Linked DNA regions of Homo sapiens: regions 2, 3, 4, 5, 6 and 7 are each linked to region 1. The links are contacts of gene promoters, found by promoter capture Hi-C in blood cells and fetal thymus (Javierre and others, 2016). All regions are on one chromosome and are shown on one strand. Each heading gives the region's core, a stretch centred on a gene start or on the middle of the fragment in contact. The rest is flanking DNA. Distances are from core to core; before and after follow the strand shown. Region 1 holds the start of ZNF684 (zinc finger protein 684). Region 2 has its middle 45 kb from the start of CTPS1. Region 3 overlaps LOC105378671 (a long non-coding RNA gene). Region 4 overlaps RLF (RLF zinc finger). Region 5 holds the start of CITED4 (Cbp/p300 interacting transactivator with Glu/Asp rich carboxy-terminal domain 4). Region 6 overlaps RLF (RLF zinc finger). Region 7 has its middle 17 kb from the start of CITED4.

What was found. The method cuts DNA at HindIII sites, captures the fragments that hold promoters and counts their contacts. A CHiCAGO score of 5 or more calls a contact.
Region 2: a fragment that was not itself captured here is called in contact with the fragment with the promoter of ZNF684 in region 1 in 1 of 17 cell types (megakaryocytes); the score reaches 5.5 in megakaryocytes.
Region 3: a contact is called between a fragment that was not itself captured here and the fragment with the promoter of ZNF684 in region 1, in 3 of 17 cell types (total CD4 T cells, naive CD8 T cells and activated CD4 T cells). The highest score is 6.8, in total CD4 T cells.
Region 4: a fragment that was not itself captured here is called in contact with the fragment with the promoter of ZNF684 in region 1 in 1 of 17 cell types (neutrophils); the score reaches 5.6 in neutrophils.
Region 5: the fragment with the promoter of CITED4 here is called in contact with the fragment with the promoter of ZNF684 in region 1 in 1 of 17 cell types (naive CD4 T cells); the score reaches 5.9 in naive CD4 T cells.
Region 6: a contact is called between a fragment that was not itself captured here and the fragment with the promoter of ZNF684 in region 1, in 3 of 17 cell types (naive CD8 T cells, neutrophils and naive CD4 T cells). The highest score is 5.3, in naive CD8 T cells.
Region 7: a contact is called between a fragment that was not itself captured here and the fragment with the promoter of ZNF684 in region 1, in 8 of 17 cell types (fetal thymus, M2 macrophages, megakaryocytes and 5 more). The highest score is 8.6, in fetal thymus.

What each region holds. Positions count from the first base shown.
Region 1 is chr1:40,529,069-40,532,932 of GRCh38, forward strand. It overlaps ZNF684 (zinc finger protein 684), which reads left to right and starts at 2,569. Exons shown (of 5, transcript NM_152373.4): 1 at 2,569-2,719. It overlaps LOC124904149 (a long non-coding RNA gene), which reads right to left and starts at 2,478. Exons shown (of 2, transcript XR_007066022.1): 1 at 2,420-2,478; 2 at 1,510-2,287. RefSeq lists an enhancer at 2,369-2,663. The HindIII fragment of the contact is 2,309 bases long and covers 1,423-3,731 here.
Region 2 is chr1:40,933,064-40,936,927 of GRCh38, forward strand. No RefSeq gene overlaps it. Among named protein-coding and RNA genes, the nearest start is that of CTPS1, 45 kb to the right of the region's middle. The HindIII fragment of the contact is 231 bases long and covers 1,888-2,118 here.
Region 3 is chr1:40,145,132-40,148,995 of GRCh38, forward strand. It overlaps LOC105378671 (a long non-coding RNA gene), which reads right to left. Exons shown (of 3, transcript XR_947232.3): 3 at 2,570-3,120. Among named protein-coding and RNA genes, the nearest start is that of RLF, 14 kb to the right of the region's middle. The HindIII fragment of the contact is 9,755 bases long and covers 1-3,864 here.
Region 4 is chr1:40,183,833-40,187,696 of GRCh38, forward strand. All of the region lies in intron 1 of RLF (RLF zinc finger), which reads left to right. Among named protein-coding and RNA genes, the nearest start is that of RLF, 24 kb to the left of the region's middle. RefSeq lists a silencer at 2,714-2,903. The HindIII fragment of the contact is 6,433 bases long and covers 1-3,864 here.
Region 5 is chr1:40,860,602-40,864,465 of GRCh38, forward strand. It overlaps CITED4 (Cbp/p300 interacting transactivator with Glu/Asp rich carboxy-terminal domain 4), which reads right to left and starts at 1,762. Exons shown (of 1, transcript NM_133467.3): 1 at 453-1,762. The coding sequence starts at 1,526. The coding sequence ends at 972. It overlaps LOC124904157 (a long non-coding RNA gene), which reads left to right and starts at 1,783. Exons shown (of 3, transcript XR_007066025.1): 1 at 1,783-2,509; 2 at 3,567-3,794. RefSeq lists silencers at 1,549-1,628, 1,789-1,988 and an enhancer at 2,089-2,148. The HindIII fragment of the contact is 10,972 bases long and covers 1-3,864 here.
Region 6 is chr1:40,208,834-40,212,697 of GRCh38, forward strand. All of the region lies in intron 5 of RLF (RLF zinc finger), which reads left to right. Among named protein-coding and RNA genes, the nearest start is that of TMCO2, 37 kb to the right of the region's middle. The HindIII fragment of the contact is 168 bases long and covers 2,028-2,195 here.
Region 7 is chr1:40,843,795-40,847,658 of GRCh38, forward strand. No RefSeq gene overlaps it. Among named protein-coding and RNA genes, the nearest start is that of CITED4, 17 kb to the right of the region's middle. The HindIII fragment of the contact is 9,100 bases long and covers 1-3,864 here.

The sequences.
Region 1 (3,864 bases), core at 1,319-3,818:
AATTATGAGAAAATTGATAATTTGAACAATGACTCAATGTTTGATGATGTTAAGGAAATATTGTTAATATTTTAGATGTGATAATAATATGGTTTTTTAAGTCTTTATTTTTATTGGTGAAATTATATGCTCTGGGATTTGCTTCAAAATACTATGCAATGGGGTTGGGGGTAGAGATGAAACAGAATTGGCCCTGAGTTGATAATTATTGGAGTTGGGGGATGGATACATGGAAGTTCACCACTATTCTTTCTACTATTGCATAGTTTAAAATTACCATAATGAAATGTTTTGTAAAATTAAATGCCTAATTTTTGGGTTGCACAAAATACATACTGTTTCTAATAAAAATACATAAGTAATTTGGTCCAAAATACTTTAGATATTAAGATGTAATGAATTTATTCTACTACCCATGTCTTTAATATATGTCCTTTCTGTTGAGAGAGAGGAGAGGAGAGGGGAGGGGAGGGGACGGGAGGGGAGGCAGAGAGAGAGAGATGTGTTTATTGCATAGAAAATGCTAGTAAAGTCAGTGGGTACTAATATCACTTGATCTTAGCCAAAAGGCTGAGAAGCGATAATGGCTACTAATATCAAGCCAGTTCTTAATGGTGCCAGGCAATAGTACTACATTTCCTTAATCTATTCACTTGCTCACATTCATAAATCATACTTTATCGAATCTCAGATGCCATTGATTATAAGTTGTATTATTATTTTATATACTAATAAAAAACAATGCTCCTGATTAAACTATGGAATGCCATCACTTGTAAGACAGCAATTTCACAGATGTTAAAATATGAAAAAATCATGTTTCAAAATCATCATAATACGGTATTCATCTTTTCTGTCAAGTCTAAAATACTTTCCCCCTATCTTCATTTCAGCTTCCTATTTCACTGGGAAAATAGAAGCACTCAGAACAGGGCATCCTCTTTCTCCTACCACCATATTTGTCCACCTGTTTGGATCTGTACTTATAAACTCTGCCTCCCCTTTTATTTCAATGGAGATGAATTATCCATACTCTTACTTAGAATGATCCCTGTGATTGTGTACTGGATTCCATCCCTTCTCTTCTCAAGGACATTCCTCCGAGTAACTAGCCTGTCTATCCTGAATTGTGTATTTCCCGCCTCTACTGGATCTTTTGTTTTATTTTATTAACTAATTCATTTATTTGAGACAGAGCCTCGCTCTGTCGCCCAGGCTGGAGTGCAGTGGTGTGATCTCGGCTCACTGCAACCTCTGCCTCCCGGGTTCAAGTGATTCTCCCGCCTCAGCCTCCCAGGTAGCTGGGTTTACAGGCGTCTGCCACCACGCCCGGCTAATTTTTGTATTTTTAGTAGAGACGGGGTTTCACCACGTTGGCCAGGCTGGTCTCCAACTCCTGACCTCAGGTGATCTGCCCACCTAAGCTTCCCAAAGTGCTGGGATTACAGGCGTGAGCCACTGCGCCCAGCCTAGATCCTTTTAATTAGTACATAAACTTACTATAATTTCTTCCATCTTTTTTATTTTATTTTTTTGAGACAGAGACTAGCTCTGTCGCCCATGCTGCAGTGCAGTGGCGGGATCACGGCTCACTGCAGTCTCTACTGTCTGGGCTCAAGCGATCCTCCCATCTCAGCCTCTCAAGTAGTTGGGACTTCAGGCGGGTGCCATGCCAGGCTAGTTTTTTATTTTTTGTAGAGATGAGGGTCTCACTATGTTGCCTAGGCAGTTTCAGACTCCTGGGCTCAACCAATCCTCCCACTTTGGCCTCCTGAAATGTTAGGATTACAGGCATAAGCCACCACACTCAGCCCCATCTTTGAATTAAAAAAAAAAAAAAAATTAGAACGTGGAAAAACGCAACAACAAAAGATTAACAAAATCCCTATCCCATGATAGCCTTATTTTTCTGCTCACCTTAAAAACAAAACTTCTTAAAAGTATTGCGTATATTTGCTTTCTCCATTTCCTCTCCTCCCATCCTTCCCTCCAACTCCTATCAAATTTTCATCAGACTTTATCAAACTTCCACCACTGCCAAAATGGCGTTTCAACATCACTGGTGACCATTGCTACAGTGGCCCATTCTTAATTCTCATTTTACTTGACCTATGAGCAACATTTGAGACAATGGGTCACTCCCTTCTTGAAACACTTCCTTCCCTTGGTTTTGCAGATCTAAACTCTCCTACTTTTCCATCTACTTCATGGATTATTCCTTCTCAGTCTTCTTTGTTGGATCCTCTTCACCTCTCCGACTTAACCTGGTGCATTGCTAGAAGAAACCCTGCTGAGTAAGAGCAAATTGTTTTTAGCATACCGCCGATTTTACTTTCCAGTATTTAAAAATGCTGTGTATCCTTTTAAATGAAAACGACTTAAAAAGCGTGGCTCTCAGGCTAGCAATAGAGATACCAACCCGGGAATCTCCGCACCACCCCCCAAGAGGAAGCAGCGTCTGACGTCTTCCGGAAACGAGCTCCACTGGCCTTATGGGAAATGTGGTCTCCGACGGATGGCCTACACCCGGGAGGAGTCCAGGAACTCTAGGTGGACAGTTACTTCCGCACACGCGTAGTAGGACGGTAGCCGGTATTCAATCTTCAAATCAGCGCCGCGGGAAGTGCGGGCGGGTGTTGCTCCCCTGTCTCTGGACGACGCTGTGACTGATCCCAGGCTTGGAGCCGGAGCTGCGAGCGAGGCAGTGAAAGGGTGGCAGGTATGGCTTTGCTGGACTCGGAGGACGTAAGAGAAAGGCGGGGACTGGCTTCTAGGTTTACCCTACCGAAGATAAAACTTTAGTCTCCAAGCGCAGTGACTTCAGGTTTGGATATGTGGGTCCTGTTCAACTCGAGTAGCTGAGAGAAAGCAAGAGTTGGGCTCCGACTGGCACTGGGTAGATGTCCAGGGCTCTGGTGGGACTGGGAGAGGCTCAATTTGCATTCCTGCTCTTGTAGGTCAAGGTCACTATGTAGGAGTCTGTTCATCTAACTGTACCTTTCCTGGTTCCAAGAGCATAGTTGGCCCGACTGGAGCCTGCGACAATTTTAAGCCGTGTCAAGGGATCCAGTGGAAACTGTAAGCTATTTCAAGGGATCCAGGAAGAAAGCATTCTTGAGAAACTGCTATGGATTAGAAGGGTATTCTCAGCAATCATTTGAAGTAAATGCTATTACCATTTTGCATATGAGTTAACTGAAGCTGAAAGGTGAAATTACTTGCCTGGACTCACACAGCTTAGTAAGTGGAAGAACTGAGATTCAAACTCAGATACATTTTCTCCAAATTTCTTTTTTTTTTTTTTTACAGTATAGCATTCCTGCATAAAACAGAGTTGGGTTTATTCTCCTGAAATGTTTGAGCAATGAATGCTGAGTAAATTTCGATTTGTAGTCATTTTGTAGAGTCTCTTGGTGTATCTGCAGATCTTCCAGTGCAGACTGTGTAAATGAAGATGTGAGTCCCCGGTTTGCCCATTATACCCTTTCTAGAGCCCCAGCAGTTCTAAGCTCATAGGAGATGGCGAGTTTCTACAGAGAGAAACATTTGGAGTTTAAACTGAAGGATCCAGCTTAACAAAAAAAAAATAAAAAAAAGTGTTCCTGGGTCCCTGAATCCAGCCTTCTCAAGAAAGCCCAACCTAATTTGCAATCTCTTATCCCAGCGTCAGAGTAGAAACCAGAGAATCACAGGAAGGAATCATTTTTAGACTTACGGAGCTTCAGAGACCAAGCTTTTAAGTGAGTCAACTCATTCATTATTTCTTCAGGATAAATTTCTGGGAGGAAAAAAAATAACTGTTTCAAGAGGAACCACTTGGTGCTAGATCAGTAGGACAGAAACATATAACATCCTTATCTAAGC
Region 2 (3,864 bases), core at 753-3,252, 400 kb after region 1:
CTATTTATTTATTTATTTATTTATTCGAGACAAGGTCTGGCTTTGTAGCCCAGGCTGGAGTGCAATGGTGCAATCATAGCTCGCTGCAGCTTCAATCTCCTGGGCTCAAGCCATTCTCCTGCCTCAGCCTCCCAAGTATCTGTGACTACAGGTTTGAGCCATCATGCCTGGCTAAGTTTTTCAAAATTTGGGTAGTGACTGAGTCTTACTGTGTTGCTCAGGCTGGTCTCGAACTCCTGGCTTCAAGTAATCCTCCTGCCAAGGCCTCCCCAAGTGCTAGGATTGCAGGCATCAGTCACTGTGCCTGGCCCTATTTATGCTTTCCTATTTATGTTTTTGATAAATGTTGAGAAGGAAAAGTACAGTGCACAATGGGAGAATAAAACAGATGGCCCAGGCTTGTCCCACGGTTCAAGGAAAGCTTCTTGGAGGATATGCCATTTAAACTAAGACTGAGGATAAGCATCAGTTGCCAGGCCAAGAGGGGATGGAAGGGCATTCCATGCAGAGGGAACAGAGTGTGCAAAGATACTGAGCCAGGAAATAATTTGGCATTTTGGAAGAACTCAGAGAAGGCCAGAGTGGCAAAAGGGCAGGGAATGAGAAGGCAGAGGTAGAAGATGAATTTGCAGAGGGGGGCAGACCATGCATGCCCTGGCAGGGCATGTAAGGATTGAGGGCTTTATCCCAGGAGCATTGGGAAGCCTTTGAAGGTTTCAATCAGAGCAGTGACCAGATCATATCTGCGTCTTAACAAACCATTTCAGAGACTGGTAGAGGATACCAGTAGGAGATTGATCCAGGTGAGAGAAGACAGGGGTTTGGACTGGGGTGCTGGCTGTGGGGAAGGAGAGAAATGCAAGCATGAAAGAAATGGTGAGGAGATCAAAGAAATGACAGAAATAAGTGACTGATGGAGAATGGGCAGCAATTGGAAGAGAGAACTGCTGAGAATGCGTCTGGACTCATGGCCTGAGTGGCTGAACAACTGAAGATGAACCCGCTCACGTGCAGGGAGACGTGATGCATTCAGTTTAGGATATGCTGAGTTGGAGGCTGCAAATGGGGTTACTCGTTTAAGGGGGGGTAAGAATAATACAGAAAGTTAAATCATGCTATATTAAGAATATAAAAGTAGGCAAAGTAACTATAGGTTGAACAGAGACTTTGGGTTGAGAGAGAAATAACTTGTATAATCTATCAAAAAAGTCTGAGTCTGTCCCTTTTTAATTTATATTTATTTATTTATTTATTTATTTATTTATTTATTTAGAGACAAGGTCTCGCTATGTTGCCCAATCTGTTCTCAAACTCCTGGGCTCAAATGATCCTCCCACCTTCACGTCCCAAAGTGCTGGGATCACCACTCCAGGACACATTTTTTTTTTTTAATGGAAAAGATGTCACAAATGGAGACCCAGTTTAGTACAAAGGAGATGGGGGTGGGGCGTTTTGGTAGGGTTCAGGGCACTGTGGATTCTCAGCAGTCACTGACTCTTACCAGTCCTGGAAGTGCGTCAAGCAGCTGGACAGAAATCACAGTGTGGACACTGGTTGGCACTTAGGGAACTCATTCATTCGTTGACTTTACAAATATCTATTTATCTGTCAATGTTCTAGGGCTCAAGGAGCTAATTCCTTAGCTTCTAACTGGAGGAGACAGACAACAAACACGTGAGTGCGTAATTTAACATCAGATCAACTGCTGTAAAGGAAAAGAAAGTCAAATCAAGGGTTAAAAAGTGCTGGGAAGAGCTCCATGATTTGAGTGGTCAAGGCCTCTCTGAAGGACAGACATCTGATTTCCAATAAAACAATTAAGAAATTACATATTTCCTTTTGTTACCTTTAAATTTATATATTAAATAGCTGACAAAAAATATTTAAAGCTTAATAGAGCATAAAATAAAGGCCATAAAAATGAACAATGAAACCAGTAGAAATCAACAGAAAATCGATGGAAGAAAATGGTAACAAAAGAATTTCAGATCATTCCAAAAGCAGTAACTCAGTAAGAGGAAAAGATAAATTTGCAAAGCAGGTATAAATAGCCTTCTGGAGTCTTTGGTAATCCAATTACTAAAAAGGAATAGGTGGGTACAGTTGTTCATGCCTGTAAGCTTAGCACTTTGGGAGGCCAAGGTGAGAGGATTGCTTGAGCCCAAGGGTTCGAGACCAGCCTGTGCAACATAGCAAGGACCCCCAAATCTATTTTATTTTATTTTTAAATAAAATTTTTTTCTAGCCCATAAGATATGGCAGAAAGACCCCATAGCAAAAAAAAAAAAAAAAAAAAAAAAAAATTAGCCAGGCATGGTGGCATGCAGTGCAGTCCCAGTTAGCTACTCTGGGGGCTGAGGCAGAAGGATCACTTGAGCCCAGGAGTTAGAGGTTACAGTGAGCTATGATGGTACCACTGCACTCCAGCCTGGGTGGCAAAGTGAGACCCTGTCTAAAAATAATAACAATAGGCTGGGCACGGTGGCTCACACCTGTAATCCCAGCACTTTGGGAGGCCGAGGCTGGCAGATCACCTGAGATCGGGAGTTGGAGACCAGCCTGACCAACATGGAGAAACCCCATCTCTACTAAAAATACAAAATTAGCTGAGCGTGGCGGCTCATGCCTGTAATCCCAGCTACTCAGGAGGCTGAGGCAGGAGAATTGCTTGAATGTGGGAGTGGAGGTTGCAGTGAGCCGAGATCGGGCCATTGCACTCCAGCCTGGACAAGGAGAGTGAAACTGTGTCTCAAAATAATAATAATGAATAATAAAAAGGAGTAGATCATGGACACAGTGGAAAAAATATTTACTTTTGCTGAGTTGACACACATTACTGAACTAAGAAAGCATGAAACTTACAATGTACCACTACAAAAGAACATTGATGACAAATGGATAATGAGAATCAATTAAAAGAAGATTTACAATTAATTGTACAAGAAAATTGAAAATGTCCTGAAAGAAACTTGATGGAGGTTTTCACAACTTTGGCAACAATCTTAATAATTGAAACAACATGACCTAAAGTCAGTTATGATGCTAGACGAAACTTTACTAAATTACCAATTAAAAAGTATTTTTCAATAAACCATTTCAGAAGAAAGAGAGAATCCTCTCTCCCTCCTCTCTGTAGAAACACAAAATTACAAAAAAAAAAAAAAATTTAAGTTGTTATATTGGAGAGGCAACCAAAGAAAATGTAGCCAACATATAGGATATTATAGAGGTATGTCAGATGGCAATTAATGAAAATTTATGTATTTTTCTGGATTCTGTGACTTTTGAGCTATTTGTCAGCTGCTAAAATCTTATCTGTTGTGATTTATTTTCTCATTACAAATAAACCTTCATGTTTATACCTGCATTTGTTAGCTACTGGTAGAGTACTGCTGTGTAACATATGGTCCCCAAACTCAGCGGCTTACAAGTATTTATTGGCATAGATCTGCAGATCAGCTGGGATGCTTTAGGCCACAGCAGCTGTGAGCTAGGTTATCTAAGCTGGGTCAGCTGGATGGCTTTGCTCCCTGTATCCCTCATCTTCCTCCTGGGACCACTGTGCTAACCAGTGAATGCCCTCATGTTGAAGACAAGGTACAAAGAAGAAAGACCCAGACTCAGAAGTAACATGCTGTCACTTCCACTCAATCCCATTGGCCAATGCAAGTTACATGGCCAAGGCCAGAGTCAAGAAGAGTAGAAATACACTCTGACACTTTAGTGGCCCAAACTGCAAAGTCATATGGCAAAGATGTAGACCCAAGGAGGGGGGAAGTATTGGGTCCAGTAATGCAATCTCCTGTAGTACCTAATTTTGTACTTAGAATTTTGCAGTCTTTTTCATAAAGAGCCCTCCTCACC
Region 3 (3,864 bases), core at 811-3,310, 380 kb before region 1:
GGTGCTAACAAGAAATTCTGGTGCTTTTAGGAATAGCAGGTGATAAGGCCAGGTGGTAGAACCTAATAGGCAGGCTGAAGATTTCGATTCTATTTGAAGCAAGAAGGGACTGAACAATCTTAAACAATGGAGTCAAATTTAGGAAGATGAATCTCGGGGAGCAAGGGGATGAACTAGAAGCAGGAATGCCTGTTGGGAAGCCCTTGCAATCATTCAAGCAAGAGCAAAGTAGGGCATGTCTAACGGTAGTGGTACGATGAAGGAACTGCCCCTCCCTTAAATCCAACAAATATAAAATCTCCCAAAGGGCAGAGGAAAGAAGGATTCTCCAGGGAGACTTTGGCAGGAGGGGAAAGTCTGAAATAGCATCTGTGAGATTTTTGGATTCCCATCTCCTTTGGGGGTTCTCTACCTTTGGGCCCCTAACCCTTCATCAAAATGGGAGCAACAAAGCCTCCCAGAAGGGAATGCTGAGCCCCTGGGAAAGGAACAAAATGTTCCCAGGGTCCCAGGGAGGTGATGGCAGCAAGTCCAGCCATGGGAAATGATAATCAAAATCAGCTTCTGAAGCACATCCTCTCCCTCACCTGGAAGCCACTCTCACTCTTCAAATGCTTCTCATTTGAAGACCTTTAGAGGACATTATTTTGTGTTATCTATATACTCTCATTCCCCAGGCATGGAGAAGTAGAAATGGGTAAGAGAAAATATGGGAGAAAGTTTCCTGAGCACAAATTAATAGGACTTAGAATCTAACCTGATTAGATTTGGGGGGTAGAGAAAGAAAGGATAAAAAATAACCGTGGGAGAAGCTAGGGTGTTGGAACAATGGTGGTTTAAGATCTTCTCATTCCCTTTACACCAATTGTACCCTCCCTAAGCAAACTTCCGGTGTTAATTTTGCTTCCCAAGCTGACTTTTCTGTAGAGATACCATTATATTTCTTAAGGTAAATTAGTAATTTGGGCTCTTGTGCCTTAATCACAACCTAGGTGAAATGATAGAATCAAGTTATTGAATTTGCAAATCAGAAATCCTAGCCTAATCAATCAGCTCCTTTGATGATCCACAGTATGGGTCTGTCCTCTTGATCATTTTGTCACTCACAGGACAAAGTCGTGAAAATAGATGGCATCCATGGTCAGTAGGTGTGGAGGGACTACAGTAAAGGAAACTAAAGTTATCCTCTGAAGCTGAACCTTATAGGAGTAATACTAGTGACACTGAGTGCTTACTGTGCATCTGGCCTCATTCTCCGCTCTTTGGATAAATCTCATTAGGACCCACAACTATGAGAATTATGAGACACATGCTGTTACAATGTCCACCTTAAGATGAGGAACCCAAGGCTCAATGAAATTAAATGATCTAAAGGCACACAACGAATAAGCAGTCGGAGCTGGGATCCAAACCTGACAAACCTGACCCTAGAGCCCTCTGGGTTTTACCCATAATGAGAAAAATTTACCTTGACCATAGTAGTTGTCCACAATGTTCCATGAATCTAAACAGATGGATCTTAAAAATGTAACCACTCTAACTCATCGTTTGTGTCTTACTCATGATGTATTGAGAGATATCTAGGTTCACTCAAGCCGGTGGTTGGGTTGGGGGGTATGGGGGGGACCTGGGAGTATCCATAGAACTGGAATATGATAAAGAAAGTTGCAATTAAATTAACTGTATTATAACTTCTGAGGGAGAAAAGAATATAAAACCCAGGACTTGTTTTTTTTCATGATGTATTTTTAGCCTCTAGGACAGTACCTGAAACATGGTAGACTTTCAGTGAATATTTGTTGAGTAAATGAATGATGCCACTCAACACTGTCCTGCAATCTTCCTGCACATATCTAGAATGCATTCTTTTTTTCTCACTCTAAAACAACTCTAACAAAGTTTTTACTGTCTCCTCAAAGGCTCAACATTGCCTTTCTCTACCACCTCAGCTTTCTCTCACAAGTCATGGAGCAAAAAGAAGCACTCAGGCAATGACTCCCAAATCTCCCACTGCCAAATCTATACACCTACTTGCATCTGTACCCATACTCTCCAGATTCCCTCCTTTTGAAATAAAAATACATATCTAATTTCTATTGCAGATCAAACTTCTTGTATTCTGGATGCCATGCCCTCTTGCCTTCTCAAGGACTTTTCTCCTGCAATCCCCCCACCCTGTTTTCTACATTAAATTTTCTCCTATTTTCCTGTATCATTTCCATACACATGCAACCATGCTCTAGAATCTCCTGTTGACATGGTTTGGCTGTGTCCCCACCCAAATCTCATCTTGAATTGTAATTCCCACGCGTTGTGGGAGGTACCTGTGGGAGGTAACTGAATCATGGGGGCAGATCTTTCCTGTGCTGCTCTCATGATAGTGAGTAAGTCTCACAGGATCTGATGGTTTTATAAAGGGGTGCTCCCCTACACAAACTCTCTGCCTGCCACCATGTAAGACACGACTTTGTTTCTTTTTGGCCTTCTGCTGTGATTGTGAGGCTTCTCCAGCCGTGTGGAAGTATGAGTCAATTAAACCTCTTTCCTTTATGAATTACCCAGTCTCGGTTATGTCTTTATTACAGGCATGAGAACATACTAATAAACTTATCTTTAAGAATTCCTTCCAAAACCTCATATCCCCTTAATAGCACAGCCCCGGTTTTATTCTCCTCTTTCTCAGAAAAACTTCTGAAGAGGGTAATTGCCCTGCTCTTTTTACTTTCATATCTCACATTAATTCTTCAATCTTCTTCAGACAGGATTCCATACCAGAGATCTACAGAAACTTCTCTAGTTGAGGTTACCAACCAATACTCATGATGTCACATCAAATGGACATTTGTGTGTCCTCACCTTACCCAAACTCTTGTCAGCAGCCTACAAAGCTGACCATTCAGCTTCTTCCTGCCGCTTTCTTCTTTTGTCTTGAGGAATATCACACTCTTGGTTTTCCCTCTGTCTGTTCAGTGGGTTCTGAACATTCTTTGATGGCTGGATCCTACTCCTCTGACATCTTAGTGTTGGCAAGATCTTGGACCCTCCTCCTTCTTTCTGTTTTGAGGTTGCAGACCGTTGGCTCATCAGTCACACTGGACTCACAGGTGGGTATTATTTGGCCTGCAGTTTTCAAAATAGGAAATCGTGTTAAAAAACAAAATCAAATAAAAGAAAAACGACAACAACAAAACCAAAACTGAACTTCCAATTTATCTTGGAGAATTAGCAGACCTAGTAAAATGAGTTCTGTATTCTCATATGGCAATAATTTTCTGGAGCTGAGTACCTGCTTCTTGGGTCATTTCTTAATCAACTCATTCTTTCCAAACATCTTATACCCAGCCTGTGTCATTCATTTAGGTGAGCTGACAAAGGCTAGTAGGAATATAAATTTATGACCCTTAGTTTATACTCTCCCCAGTGGATCTTATTTAAATACCCATTTAAATACCATATGCTTTAAAAAGTCTTCTTTCATAACATTGAGTGCACACAATATGCCCGGAACTACTGTACCAGACACTGGGGATACAGCGGTGAATGACGCAAGTCACTCTACTTCCAAAGAACTTACCTTCTATAGAGGGGAGACACACACAACAGTGATAACATAAAGCCAAATAATATTTGGGCTGGGCGCAGTGGCTCATGCCTGTAATCCCAGCACTTCGAGAGGCTGAGGCGAGCGGATCACGAGGTCAAGAGATTGAGACCAACCTGGCCAACATGGTGAAATCCTGTCTCTACTAAAAATACAAAAATTAGCTGGGTGTGGTGGCAGGTGCCTGTAATCCCAGCTACTTGGGAGGCTGAGGCAGGAGAATTGCTTGAACCTGGGAGGCGAAGGTTGCATTGAGCCGAGAT
Region 4 (3,864 bases), core at 605-3,104, 350 kb before region 1:
ATATTAAATAAGTTTAGTGGCCGTAAAGCTCTTAGGAAGTGCCTAACCCATACTATGTGCTCAGTAAATATAATTATTTCATTAGGAAAGTTAATCCTGAACTATGTGAAATTTAAATTGGAATGTATTCTTTAAACATTAAATGTGACCATCCTGAAAGAAATTCTCCTTTCTTGATAGTTTCAAGGAATAGTCAGAATGCTGCCAAGCTCCTTGAAACCATGTAGTGAGAAATGTAGAGAGAATTAAGGGTGAGGGGAGATTTTTTTTGCTTTGAAAATGTAGTCATGCTTATTAAAGAAAATTTGAGAAGTTTAGAAAAGTATAAAGATGACAAAAATTGCTCATATTCCTGCTACCTCAGTGCTAACCATGTAAGCATTTTAGTTAATTTCTTCTAGTCATTTTCCCCTTGGACATTAATTTTTTCAATGTACAGACATACGTGATTATAACACATATACAGAACTAGAGGTTATTTAGCCTAGAGAAGTGAACCAATGTAGCAGTCTAGATGAGGGATATTGGGGGCCTGGTTTAGGTGAATGGCTACAGAGATAAAGCATAGGGACAGGAGACAAAGATATTTCTGAGATAGAATCAACAAACTTTGGTGTGGTGGTTTCAAAGATAGTTTTTTAGCTCTGGCTCCTGAAAGGAGGCAGATGGAACATAGGAGGAAGAGCATATTTGCTGGGGAAGATGTTTGGTTTTGGACATGCTGAGTTTGAGATTTGAATAGGACATCCAGATGGAAATATGTAATAGGCAGTTGAGGTATATAGCAAGGACTTGAGAGAGTAATTTGAGGGTAATCTGCTTGGGATGTGAATGAGAGCACCGAATAGTCAAATATGGTGCGTAAGTGAGCTAATTTTTTACTTATATATCTGACCCCTTAGTATATATCATAGCCTTTCAAGGGCAGGAATAGAGTCTCCATCCTTACTTCCCAGCACAGTACAAAATAGTAGGTATTTGTGGAATGAGTTTACTGAAACAAAAGAGAGAGGTCATTAATTTGGTCACTGTAGAATGAACTTTAGGAGGTCATCTTTATCATTTATTGCCCCTTTTCTCTTCAGTTGTGATTTCAGTTCCTAAAGAAAAATAAGAGACCGTGGCTGGGTACAGTGGCTCACACCTGTAATCCCAGCACTTTGAGAGGCCAAGGTGGGAGGACCACTTGAGGCCCAGGAATTTGAGACCAGACTGGGCAGCAAAGAGACCCTGTCCCTACAAAAAAAAAGTTTTTTTTAATTGGCTGGGCATGGTGATGCACTTCTCCAGTCCTAGCTACTCAGGAGGCTGAGGTGGGTGGGAGAGAGGATCACTTGAGCCTAGGAGTTTGAGGTTATAGTGAGCTGTGATTGAACCACTGAACTCTAGCCGGGTTCAAGCAATTCTCCAGCCTCAGCCTCCCAAGTAGCTGGGACTAGAGGCATGCGCCACCACGCCCGGCTACTTTCTGTATTTTTAGTAGAGACAGGGTTTCACCATGTTGGCCAGGCTGGTCTGAACTCCTGACCTCAAGTGATACACCTGCCTCGGCCTCCCAAAGTGCTGGGATTACAGGCGTGAGCCACCTTGCCTAGTCCAGTTTTTTAAATGCAAGATTAGGTTGAAAGGATTACAGCCATCCTGTTATTTGGATGGCTGTAATCCTTTCAACCTAATCTTGCATTAAAAAAAAAAAAAAAAAAAAAAAAAAGCCGGGCGCAGTGGCTCCCAGCACTTTGGGAGGCCGAGGCGGGCAGGTCACGAGGTCAGGAGCTCGAGACCATCCTGGCTAACACGGTGAAACCCCGTCTCTACTAAAAATACAAAAAAAAAAAAAAAAAAAAAATTAGCCGGGCATGGTGGCGGGTGCCTGTAGTCCCAGCTACTTGGGAGGCTGAGGCAGGAGAATGGCGTGAACCTGGGAGGTGGAGCTTGCAGTGAGCCAAGATCGTGCCACTGCACTCTAGCCTGGGCTGACAGAGTGAGACTGTCTCAAAAAAAAAAAAAAAGCAAAAAAAAAAAAAAAAAAAAAACCACAAAGGCTGGATGCGAGGTGGCTTTTGCCTGTAATCCCAGCACTTGGGGAGGCCAAGGCAGGCGGATCACTTGAGGTCAAGAGTTCGAGACCAGCCTGGCCAAAATGGTGAAACCCCATCTCTACTAAAAACAGGAAAATTAACCGAGCCTGGTGGCGCACAGTTGTAATCCCAGCTACTCAGGAGCCTGAGGTGAAAGGATCCACTTGAATCTGGGAGGTGAAGGTTGCAGTGAGCCGAGATTTCACCACCGCACCCCAACCTGGGTGACAGAGTGAGACTTGATTAAAAAAACAAAAAGAAAGAAAGAAAATGCCTGGCTAGCCACAGTGGTTCATGCCTGTAGTCCCAGCTACTTGGGAGGCTGAAGTGGGAGGATCACCAGCAGTGATAGAATGAGACTCTATCTCAATTTAAAAAAAAAGTGATAATGAAGAAGATTGATTATTCCAGCCATTCTTCACATACCCAGAGTATGCTTATAGTGGGTATAAGAGATCTCACTACTTAATTTGAACCAACACATGAGGGGGTAAAGATTTAGGAATATAAAAAGTATAAATTAGTATAGAGCAAACTGGAAGTTCCTCAAGAGTATTGAATCTTTGAAATTGTGTAGCTTACAGAAGTCCTGGTGGAATGTCTGTCAGAAGCTATTAGATTGGTGGCAAGAGCGTTCTAAGTGGACAGGTGGATTGTGGAAAGACTAACCCCATCTGTATGCACTCTGTCCTTCTCTTTGCATACTTTAGTTAGCAGTTGGTTAATTTGCATGTGTGGTTTCAGCCATCATGTTGTATTGACTCATTCTGAAAGCTCTGTGAGGATAGGCCACATGTCTGCCCGCCCCCACTGCATCTAGCACTTTATGTGTGATAATCTATTGAAAAATATTTGTCAAATGAATAAAATGGTGAATGTATTCAGCAGACATTTAGTGAGACTTGAGAATGTCCTGTGGGGGTGGAAGTGGGTAGAGGAGTGGTAGGCCTATAAGGATTGATGAGACATAATGTCTGACTTTAAGGAACATAAATCTGGCACTAAATATAAATTTTTGAAACTCCTTAATTCTTAGATTAGCCAATGCAGACAGTAAGTAACTTACTGACCTAAACCAGAATTTTTTTGTAACATAGATTTTAATAAATTTCTTTGTTTTTTGTTTTTTGGTTTTTTTTTTTGAGACAGTCTTGCTGTGTCGCCAGGCTGGAGTGCAGTGGCGCAATCTTGGCTCACTGCAACCTCCGCCTCCCAGGTTCAAGCGATTTTCCTGCCTCAGCCTCCTGAGCAGCTGGGACTACAAGCGCGCGCCACCACGCCCATCTCTAATATTTGTATTTTTAGAGACGGGGTTTCACCCATGTTGGCCAGGATGGTCTCGATCTCTTGACTTTGTGATCCGTCCGCCTCGGCCTCCCAAAGTGCTGGGATTACAGGCGTGAGCCACAGCACCTGGCTGATTTTAATAAATTAGGTGAAATCTTAGTTATGTAACAGACACCCATTCTGCATTCTTTCTCTACTAATTCAGCTGGGAAGCAGGATTGCTTAGGGGTCAGTTTTATAATGTTACTCAGTTTTTTTATTTTATTAAAATTAGGGATTTGATTAAGTGGTGACATGTTGCTTTTCTGAAATTACAGAAGGGCATTTATCTAAAGTGACTGTGACCAAGTAGCAAGATACTTAATTGAGTAGGTCGGTATACTAAAAATAGCTCAACTGACTGTAATGATTCAGGTATGCAAAGATCAGATAATGCAATATATTAGTTAAGGGAACTTTTACTGTATATGGTATAATGGTCTATGGTATATTTCCTTGT
Region 5 (3,864 bases), core at 512-3,011, 330 kb after region 1:
TTACTGAGAACTGCCCAGGTATTTGGCACTGTGCTAAAGGCAGCGTAACTACCTGAGGAGACGGGGACCATCTCCCTCTGGGAAACCGCCTCAAAAATCAGAACGGATGGTGTCTTGGGCAAAGGAGAGAGTCAGGGTCCAAAGCTAGGCTGTCTGAACTCGGTGCCACCCAGCTCCTCTCTGGCAGAGCACCAAGCTCCCCCCACCCTACCCTAGGAGCTGGGAAGCCCAGTGGGTTACCCCACCACCCAGTGGCAGCCTCTGCCCTCCAGGTTGTGACATAACAATTGCACAACCCACGAGATATTTTTGAAAGAAACTGTCGGTTTCCTCTCCTGGGCACTGCTGGGGACTGTGGCCCCCATGCCATCCAGTGTCTTCAGCAACCTTGGGACTTTGGAAGCTAAATATAGTCAGGGCTCGGGGTGATAAGGAAATGAAAACGGCAAGACTGTAAAGTGACCCAGTTTTATTTTGGTTTTGGAGGCCAGACAGGGCATTGCTCCACGGGTTCGGGCTGTACAACCTTCCCCTCCTTGAGGTGGGAGGCCCAGCAACCACAGGGCCCAGGCAGCGGGGTGGGAGGCTCAGGAGATGGTGGCTCTGGGGACCCGATCCCGAGGAGAGAGGGGGCAGCAGGCAGAGGCCTGCAATGGCTCAGATTGGGGGAAGAGGGCGGCGAGGGGGAGAGGACACGATCCAAGAACCAGAGTCCGAAAGCTGAAGCTGGTCCGGTCTCTTTCACTTTACGGCCGAGGCTGGGGTCAGAGAAGTGAAGCCAAACTGTCCTCCCGCAGGAGGCAAGGCCTGGAGGGACGCCAGGGTCCCAGTCCGGTGCCGGGCCCTGCGCACACAGCCGCCGCCTCCACCCTCGCGGAGGGCGCGCGCGGGGCCCAGTCGCTGGGTGCAGGGTCCGGCGGGCAGTCGGGCCCTTTCTCCTCTCCGGCACGCCGGGCGGGCGCCGGCCGCCCTCAGCAGCTCACGGAGCCGGCGGGCGGCGCGGACCCCAAGTCCGAGAAGCAGTCGAACTCGCTCTGGCCCAGGAAGAGCTCGGGCAGCTCGCGCACGCGGTGCAGCCCGAGCTCCAGCTCCAGCGACGTCAGCGCCTCCTCGTCGATGAGTTCGGCGTCCATGCCGCCCAGGGCGTGCGCGGGCGGCGGCGGGGCTGCGGCGCTTGGCGCCGGCTGCGGGCCCGGGGGGCCTCCCGGAGCGTTGGGGGGCGCGGCCGCGCGGCCGGGGTACGGCGTCGCCACAGGCTGCAGGTGCGCGATGCCCGCGGCCGGCGGAGGCACGGCCGGAAAGGGCTGGAAGGAGGACGGCGGCCCGAAGGCCCCGTACGCCAGGGCCCCGGGTTGGCGGGGCGGCGGCGGCCCCAGCGGAGCCCCCCGCGGCCTCAGCCCACTGTCCAGGCCCGGGCCCGCGTACGGCGGCAGAGTCCGGAGCGCATGAGGGCCATGGGCGGCCGCGGCGGACGGCGGCCTCTGCACCAGGCGGTAGCCCTCGGCGAGCATCAGGTGGTCGGCCATGGCGGCAGGCCGGCTGCCTGCGGGGACAGCGCGCGGTGGTCAGCGCCGGCTCCCCCGGCCCGGGCCAGCGGCTGCTCTGCGGCGGGAGACCCGGGCACCGTGCGGTCCCTGCAGCTCGGCCGGGCGGAGCAAAACCAAACCCGACTGGTGCCCCGGCCCAGCCCACTACTGCGCACCTTGCGGCCGCAGCCTGGGGTCACAAAGGCCCGCAACCTGTAGTGCTCCGAAACCTCCGCGTCGCGTAGCTGGGCTCGGCGTATTCTTATACCCAGAGGCGGGGCTTCCCCGCCCTCGGACGCTCATTGGCTGGGCGAGACGCTTCTGGGCGGGCCGCGCACGCCTGCATCTAGGTCTTGGCCCCGCCCCTCCCACTGGAACCCCGCCCCTTGGGACTCCGGCCACGCCCCAGGCTCTGAGCACCGCCCTGGGGCGGGGTATTTGGCACTTTCGGAGGGATTCGGTCTGGCCCTCAGGGCTTCGGAATCGGACTTGGCTGGGGTAGAGCTTGAACTGACCAGAAGGTGGGGTGGGAGGGCCAGAGTTTTAGGCCCCCCAAGAGCTGCAGGATGTCAGGCCTACGCAACCTTTTAACTTTCCAGGTAGAGACCGAGGCTCAGTGGCGGAAGAGGCTTCCTGGAAATACACAGCAAAGCCTTGATCAAAGTGAGACTGCACAGCTACACAGGGCGCATGCACCTTAGCGGTGCAGGGTCCCCGCAGGAGGTCAGCTGTCCATTCCCATAACCCCCAGGAGAGCCTGTTGCTCCCCCTCTAGTTCCCACTGCACCTTGTCTGTTGAAGCATGTACTTAGTTGTTATTAATTTATGGGCACGTCTCCTGAAGGACTTGTTCATCTTCTTCTTCTCAGCACTTGGCCCAGAGCCTGGCCCAGAGCAGGCTTTTAGTAAAAGCTGAGTGAATGAACTAATGATGGAATGAATTGCAACTCTCAGCTGAGCCTCAGTTTCTTCATCTGTAAAAGGTAAAGAACAGCAGCACTGACCCTTTGTGAGGGGTAAGTGAGGGCATGTGTGCACAGTGCCTAGCACAGTGCCTGGTATGTGGTAGATGCTCAAAAGTGTCCCTTAGATGAAAGAAAGGCTATTTAAGTTCTTTTTTTTTTTTTTTTTGAGACGGAGTCTCGCTCTTTCGCCCAGGCTGGACTGCAGTGGCGCTGTCTTGGCTCACTGCAAGCTCCGCCTCCCGGGTTCACGCCATTCTCCTGCCTCAGTCTCCCGAGTAGCTGGGACTACAGGCGCCCGCTACCACGCCCGGCTAATTTTTTTTGTATTTTTAGTAGAGACGGGGTTTCACCGTGTTAGCCAGGATGGTCTCGATCTGCTGACCTCGTGATCCGCCCGCCTCGGCCTCCCAAAGTGCTGGAATTACAGGCGTGAGCCACCGCGCCCGGCCAAGGCTATTTAAGTTCTGTCCCAAAGGGCCTTCTCTTGATAACAGCAATAATAACTTGGACTTTTAAAGTGCTTTACATTCTACAAGTATTTTGTTGGGGGCAGGGCATGGATTATCAGCCCCATTTCAGTGATAAGGAGAAGCACACAAAGAGAAAGTGGCTGTCCTGAGGTCACAGGCAGCCAGAGTTAGCGTGTGAATGCCATGTGTTTTCCAAGTCCTTAGGGCAACTGGAGTCTTTCCTGTGGCCAGGAGACAGCCTCCCAGAACCTTACCCTCCACGCATTTGACACTCTCTCTCCCTTCTCTGACCTTCCCCCGACCTGTGGCATCCTTGGGACTTCCTGGAACTTGGGTTTATCCAGTTGATGTAGAGGGGAGAGCCCTAGAGTGAGAATTCAGGGGCCCAAGGTCTTTTCTTCCCTCTTTCTTCTTATTTTTTTAAATAGAGAAGGGAGCGGGGGGGAGGGGCGGCGTGGGGGAGTGAGGAGGGCCTCAGGCTTATCTCGAATCCCTGGCCTCAAGTGACCCTCTCACCTCAGGCTTCCAAAGTGCTAGGATTACAGGCATGAGCCACTGCGCCCAGCCAGAGGCCCAAGTTCTAATCATATCTCTGCCACCCACAGGTGTGTGACCTCCACCACCAACCAGCTGTGACTGTTGAGTGTTGAGCGGGGAGTATTACTTGATTCCCCAGGGCCTCAGCTTTCTGCTCTGTGAAAGGGAGACGGTGATCTTGCCTGGTCAGCCTGAGAGCTTGTGGGTAGTGATAAATGACCATGGGTGTGGTCACATTTTTGCAAAGTGTAAAAAGCTACACCCTGGAATTTATTCTCCTGAATCTTTCTCTACAGGTAAGGCTTCTCACAGAAATTCTTAAACCTGGCCATGCCTCACACTTATCTGGAGATGTGGGGGGTAAGG
Region 6 (3,864 bases), core at 862-3,361, 320 kb before region 1:
GAATTTTATAGAAATTAACTGAGGCTCTGAGAGATGATATTACTGGCGCATAGTAGTAAGATGTCCAGTAAGTGGTGTGCCCAGGGTTTAAATCCAAGGTGATCTGCCTCTGCTTTGCTTTTATACATATTAATCTGACACTCACACATCTCATGTACATGATCCAACTCACTGTCACTGCCAACCTTCTGGTTCTTTCTGGATTCTGGTTCTTAAAGTAGACTTGTTGTGCAGGCAAGTTTTTATTTCTTTTGTTTACCCAGAGGGGAAACTTCAGAAAAGATGGGAGGGGACTTTGAAGTTCTGAGGCTTGTGGGTGGCTCATTACTGGACTGGATTTACTGAGGAGCTTAGGTAGAGTATGTTTTTCACAAGACATCTAGAGAAGTGAAAGCAACAATCAAAATATGTAGGCTTGAATCTTGACATTGTCATTTACTAGCCATACAGCCTTGGCCAGGTAGCTTTATTTTCCTTATCTATAAAGTAGGCACAACAGTAGTAGCCGTCTCACAAAATGGCTGGATAGTTTAAATGTGATAATATCTAAAGCACTTAACACAGTTCTTGGCATATTTTAGACACCTTACAAACATAGACCCTAGTATAAGAATTCTTTAAGCCTGGGGTGCAGAACTAGGGAGGATCCGTCGAAGTCAAGATTGATCAGAGGTGAAACCTGAATTTGCACAGAGAAACAATGTGGTATACACAGAGATAGCCTCCTATGACTTCATCTACATTTTTAAAAGCAGTCATATGGGCTGGACAGAGTGGCTCATGCCTGTAATCCCAACACTTTGGGAGGCCGAGGCGGGCAGATCATGAGATCAGGAGTTCAAGACCAGCCTGGCTAACATGGTGAAACCTTGTCTCTACTAAAGATACAAAAAATTAGTCAGGTGTGGTGGTGTGCGCCTGTAATCCCATCTACTCAGGAGGCTGAGGCAAGAGAATCACTTGAACCCAGGAGGCAGAGGTTGCAGTAAGCCAGGATCGTGCCATTTGCACTCGAGCTGGGGCGACAGGGCGAGACTCCGTCTTAAAAAAAAAAAAAAAAGGCGATCATAAGAGACCAACTATAAACCTGTATGCTAATTTATTTATTTGCAGTATCAGGTAGTGTAAGGAGATAGATTGCTTACCTCTAATAGCAGCTGCAGTATTTTATGTTTGGGAAAGTTAATCAGACTGAGATGTAGTAATGGTTATTCTCAGCACCTGACACATGCCAAAACAATTCAAAAGCAGCAGCAAAACACTACATTTTGGGTTTGATTCCTCATCCTGTAATAATAACAACTTTACTCTCTCAGCCTTTGCTTAATTAAAACCCGTTTTGTTTCTAATGTTGTATTAGGCATTGGCAAATACAGCAAACTGTATGGCCCAGTTTGTTTGCCAAAAATAGTTACAGAAAGAGAAGTACTAAGCTCAATGATTACTGCCCTAAATTCAGTAGAAGTGTAAAGATAGAGAATTCTGTGTTTATAGAAAAATTGATCCTTGAATTGGAGCTTTAAGTAATGGTGGGGTTTGGATGGGTGGAAAGAATGGTTTGGAGATGACTGAATGGTAGTAAAGCACAGGTACTAATGAGTACTTTGCAGGGATCCACTGGAGAATAAATACCCTGCTTAGGGCAGAGTGGTTATTGAAGTCTTGTGAGAAATAAGACCTGTTGGGGTTGGAAAAGAAGGGCTTGGAAACTCCATTGCATTAATGGTTAGATTTGATGCAGTAGAAATTAAGAAGGCTTTGCAGTTAGGAAGTGACATGTCTGAAGTGGTGTTTTAGGAAGACTAGACAGAAAGAATATGTATTATGTTTAGGACAAGAGATTGTAGCCAGCAAGAGGACAAAGGACAGGACTTGCTGACCGGGCAAAAACAGAGGAGGATGTACAGAGATACCTTCAAGAGGCTCATAAGGCTTCTAGCTTGGGAGACTGGAAGAATAGTGGTGCTCTGCTGCTAATTAGAAGAAAGAATGGGTGGAGGGACAAGGGAGAGTCTGGGAAGATGATAAGCTTTGTTTTATACATGATCTTTCCTGGTTTATTAATAACAATGTTTGGAAACAGGATTTTTCCTGATTGTGTTGAGTTTGCAGGGAACTGTGTTATAGGAAATACGATTTGATACTATTCACAACAGGGGGTTGGCACCCACCCAGCTACCTGTTTTTATAAATAAAGCTTTACTGGCACAAAGTCTTACATTCATTTCTTGTCTGTGGCTGCTTTTGTGCTACAGTGGCAGAGGTGAGTAGTTGTAACAGAAACTCTCTGGCCAGAAAAGCTAAAAATATTTTCTGTCTGTCCTTGTACGAAAAATATTTGCTAACCTCTGCTCTACAAGAATTAAATTTTCCAGTCTATTTCAGTGGTTTAATATCGGTTGGTCTAACCCTCCGTGTTCTACACGTGATGAAACTGAAGCCAAGCTGATAATGTTTCCAAGGCCCTTCCTGCATTAAGCTAATTAGAAAGGCCAAGCCCAGCTGGAATGCAGGTCACCTGGCTCCTTGGTCAGCCTTCTTTCCACTCTACCACCTATTTCCATGTGTTAGACATTGATAAGCCATGGTCTGATTGGGAACATCTTGGTGATATATCATTCTGTTCATATTTATACATATAGGTGTGATTTAAAACATTTTTATCATGATGTGGATTAATTTGTTAAATATACCAATGCAAAACATTTAGTACACATAAAGTTATCTTAAAATTATTTTAAAGGAACCCTAGTATCATCGTATCATCATAACTAGTCAGTCTTTTTTTTTCCTTTCTTTTTCTTTGAGATGGTGTTTCACTCTTGTTGCCCAAGCTGGAGTGCAATGGCGTGATATCGGCTCACTGCAACCTCTGCCTCTCGGGTTCAAGTGATTCTCCTGCTTCAGCCTCCCGAGTAGCTGGGATTACGGGCACGTGCCACCACGCCTGGCTAATTTTTGTATTTTTAGTAGAAACGGGGTTTCACCGTTTCTACTGGTGACCAGCTGGTCTCAAACTCCTGACCTCCTGTTATCCGCCCGCCTCGGCCTCCCAAAGTGCTGGGATTACAAGGCATGAGCCATCACGCCCAGCCACTAGTCAGTCTCTTATCCTAGTGATACTTTTCTTTTGCAAGTGTCAACAGAATTAAAAATAATCTGTAGTTTGCTTTGGAAAATTACTAGTGAGTCACCAGATGTTGATTAATTAGAGTTTAAATTCAGCATACGTTCTAAAGTAGCAGAGTTACACACATATTTGCCATCTACTTCACCTGAGTTCAGGAGAAGAGTTAACTTGAGCAACAGCTGGGAATAAAAGTACATTGTATGTTGGTACCTGGGGGTATCCCAATAATAGGCATATGTAATGGGAAACCGCTGCTGGGGAAGATTTAGCCAGACACATACAATTAAGATTAATTGACTGGGTCATCTGAAAGTCAAAATTCAGAACCTAGTGGGTAAAGAGTGAGTCCTTTCAGATATCTGGTAGGTCTGGAAGGCAGAAGAATTTCATGGAATCCTGGAGTTTTAGGTTGTGATACTTTATTTATGTAGAATTGAATGAGATGACATTGCTATTAACTTTACATATTAAAGGATTTTAATAAAAGTTATAGACTTGGCAGTGGCTCAGTGTCCCAAGTGGATGTTTCCTATATTTTTTCATTACTGAAAGGGGAAGTCTTTGCAAAGATCAGGTTTTCAACATAGAAAAGATAACATTTTAAACATCAAGCACTTCTATTTTAAAGAGCTCAAGAAATCTGTCAGCAGAGTTCTTGGCGCAGTTAAGGCAGGGGTCCGTTTCATTCTTAATCCCTGAATGAACTACATCTTCGGTATCTGACGTGGTTGATA
Region 7 (3,864 bases), core at 501-3,000, 310 kb after region 1:
GGTCCAGAGGCACCAGTGAGTGTGGTAGATGAAAGGAACAGAAAGAAATCCCGTGGCTGGTCCCAGACAGCAACGGAGAGAGGGGTGCAAGATGGGACTTTAGAATTAGGGGTCAAAGTTTACAGGATTTCATTAATCATTCCAAAGAGATAGGACTTAGCCATGATAGCAGTGGGGAGACAATAAAAGATTTTTCTCAGGCAGCACACTGGGGTAGATTTGCATTTTAGAATTTTTTTTTTTTCCTGGGATGGAAGATGTATTTGAGGGAGTAAGTGTGGGTGTGGGGAGAGCAGGTAGGAGACTGCTGCAGTCACCCGAGCAGGAGGTGCTGGTAACCCGAACAAGTCCCATGACATTTCACTAATTGAGTTAAATGTCTATTGAGCACCCGCTATATGCCAGACCCTGCCTCAGCACAATATACAGGATGAACAGACACGGGAGAACAAGTTACAGCCCTGAGGTCATCCAGCCCCTGGGGGAGACAGATGCACAATTAACCAATGCACAGCTACTGTTTATCTTCTAAATTTGCCTGGCTCAGCAAGGAGAGTTTGCAGGTGGCTCTGGGAGTCCCCAAACTGTCATCAAATACGGCCTTGACAGCAGATACAATTTTAGCTTGGTGTGTCATTTATCTATTGCTTTGTAACAACTTATTTTAAAACTTAATGGTTTAGGACAGATGTGGTGGCTCATGCCTGTAATCCCAGCACTTTGGGAGGCCGAGGTGGGTGGATCACTTGAGGCCAGGAGTTCAAGACCAGCCTGGCCAACATGATGAGACCCCCATCTCCTAAAAATTACAAAAATTAGCCTGGTATGGTGGCGTGCGCCTGTAGTCCCAGTCACTCAGGAGGCTGAGGCAGAGAATTGCTTGTACCCGGGAGGTGGAGGTTGCAGTGAGCCAAGATCATGCCACTGCACTCCAGCCTGGGCAACAGAGCAAGATTCTGTCTCCAAAACAAACAAACAAACAAACAAAAAACCACCAACAAAAAACCTTAATGGCTTAAAATAACAACTATTTTATTTTATTTACTCTTGATTCTGTGGGTCAGCAATTTGGGGTGAACTCAGCTGAACAGCTCTGCTGGTCTCACCTGGGGTCACTAATGTGCTTGCAATCATCTGGCATCAACAGGGTCTAGATGGCCCAAGAGGGCCTTCCCCACGTGTCTGCAATCTGGTGTGAGTTGGTCTGCAGGCAAGACGGCTCATCTCTGTTCTATGGAGCTTCTCATCCTCCAGTAGATTAGACTGTACTTCTTCATATGGCAAGAGGGCAAAAGCAGAAGCCATCAGGCCTCTGGAGGCCCAGGCTCAGAAGCTGTACCAAGGGGCTCAGCTCACTTTGATGGGTGCTCTGAATACGTTGCGATGTTTACACTCTTGTAGATCTAAAAAAACCCATGCAGTTATTTCTCTATTTAGATAATTTATTTCATGTACTTTTGTTTTTTTGAGAGTGCAGAGTGCAGTGGCCACTGCACTGGGCCATATTTCACGTACTTTTGACAGCTCCAATTGTTAAAACAGTTTCGTTTTCCCTCTGAGAAGCTGAGAGGCACATCTTCCCCTACCACCCACCTCTGTGTATAGCAGGACCGTGATAGCTGCTACCACGGTGTGTTGGTCTGTGTGGGATGGCATAGCAAATATCATGGACTGGAAGGTCTAAACAACAGAAGTGCATGATCACACAGTCAAAGTTCTGGAGGCTGGAAATTCAAGACCAAGTTATCAGCAGGGTTGGTTTCATTCTGAGGCCTCTCTCCTATGATTGTAGAGGCTGCCTTCTTCTGGTATCTTTGCATGATTATCTCTTGTTCTCTATGTACACAGGTCTGAGGTCTCTCTCTGTGTCCTAATAATCTCCTCTTCCTCTTCCTCCTCCTCCTCCTCCTCTTCTTCTTTGTGTTCCTAGTTTTCTTTTTCTTTTCTTTTTTCAAGTTTTATTTTAGGTTTGGGGACACATGTGCTGGTTTGTTACTAAGGTATATTGCATGATGTGCATGATGCTGAGGTTTGGGATACGACAGAACCTATCACCCAGGTAGGGAGCACAGTACCCAACAGGTCATTTTTCAACCCTTGATCCCCTCCCTCCCTCTCCCTTCTTGTGGTCTGCAGTGTCAATTGTTGCCATCTTTATGTCCATGTGTAACTAATGTTTAGTTCCCATTTATAAGTGAGAACATGCAGTATTTGGCTTTCTGTTTCTGCATTAGTTTGCTTAGGATAATAACCTCCAGCTGCTCAAGTTGCTGCAAAGGACATGATTTCCTTCTTTTTATGGCTGCATAGTATTCCATGGTATATACGCACCACATTTTCTTTATCCAGTCCACCATTGATGGATACCTAGGTTGATTCCATGTCTTTGCTATTGTGAAGAGTGCTACAATGAACATACAGTTGCATGTGTTTTTTTGGTAGAATGATTTATTTTCCTTTGGGTATATATCTAGTCATGAGATTGCTGAGTGGAATGGTAGTTTTATATTTAGTTCTCTGAGAACTCTCCAAATTGCTTAACTAATTTACATTCTCACCAAGAATGTATAATCATTCCCTTTCCTCTGTAACCCCGCCAACATCTGTTATTTTTTGACTTTTTAATAATAGCCATTCTGACTAGTGTGAGATGATATCTCATTGTAGTTTACGTTTGCATTTCTCTGATGATTAGTGATGATTGATGCTGAACATTTTTTCATGTTTTTTGGCCACTTGTATATCTTCTTTTGAGAATTGTCTGTTCCTATCCTTTGCTCACTTTTTAATGGGGTTGGTTTTTGCTTGTTGATGTATTTATCGCCTCTTCTTATAAGGATACCAGTAATATTGGATTAGAGCTCACCCTAAAAAACCCATTTTAACTTGATTACCTCTTTAAAGGCCCTATCTCCAAATGCAGTCACATTTTGAGGAACTGAGGGTTAGAACTTCAGCATATGAATTTTGGAGGGATGCAATTCAGCCAATGACACCTGCAACAGGGATTTCACCCACCAACCTGACGCATTTTCTGCTGTAAATGCACAGGATCTGAGAATCACTCGGGTTTGCCCCATCCCAACTGGCAGAGCTGAACAGAGCTATAGACATCATGGAACCAAGTGATTTGAAAACCCTTTTTTGAAGGCCCAGGAACCTTTGCTACAGCATAACCTATTTGGAATCCTAATATACAAAATATAATCAGTGCAATAAAAAATGGGAACCTCCCAGAGGTGGCCTCAATTCTCCCCTTACATACACATTGAGCATGTGCCTAGCATTTTGCTGCAGGCAAAATAGATCTGTCTCTGTGATGTATCCTTTATGTAACTATTGTAGTCGATTGTATTCTTTGTCTGAAAGTCTTCCTTCCTTCCTTGCCATTGCCATGGTTACCCTTGCATGGTGTGTACTTGCCTATCTGTCTTACAGCAGGTTTCCTGGAAACCAATTCCGAGACAGAGAGTGGTGTGCAGAAGGTTTTTAGGGGAGTGTGCTCAGGAGATTCATCTATAAGGAAGGTAGGAGGTAGGATTAGACAGAAGGAGAGGTTGATCTACTATGCGATAGCAACTGAGGTAGCTGCTGATCCTCAGGAGCCCTAGAGCTCATCTATCCCCGAAGAGTTGTGCTAAACTGAAGGAAGAAGGCAGGCCTTTGTTTTCCTTCAAAGGAAACCATCAGCCAATCATTAGCCAATCATGGCCATGACTGTGGGTGAGGCAGTTCCCTGTGGCCAAGGGCAATTCCCAATGAGTGACACAGTTGTGAGCCAGCAGAAGATTCCCAGCAGGCTCTGAAGGGTGGATCTGGGTGGAACCCCATAGCATCCACTCTACCAACCCCCTGACTTTGGGC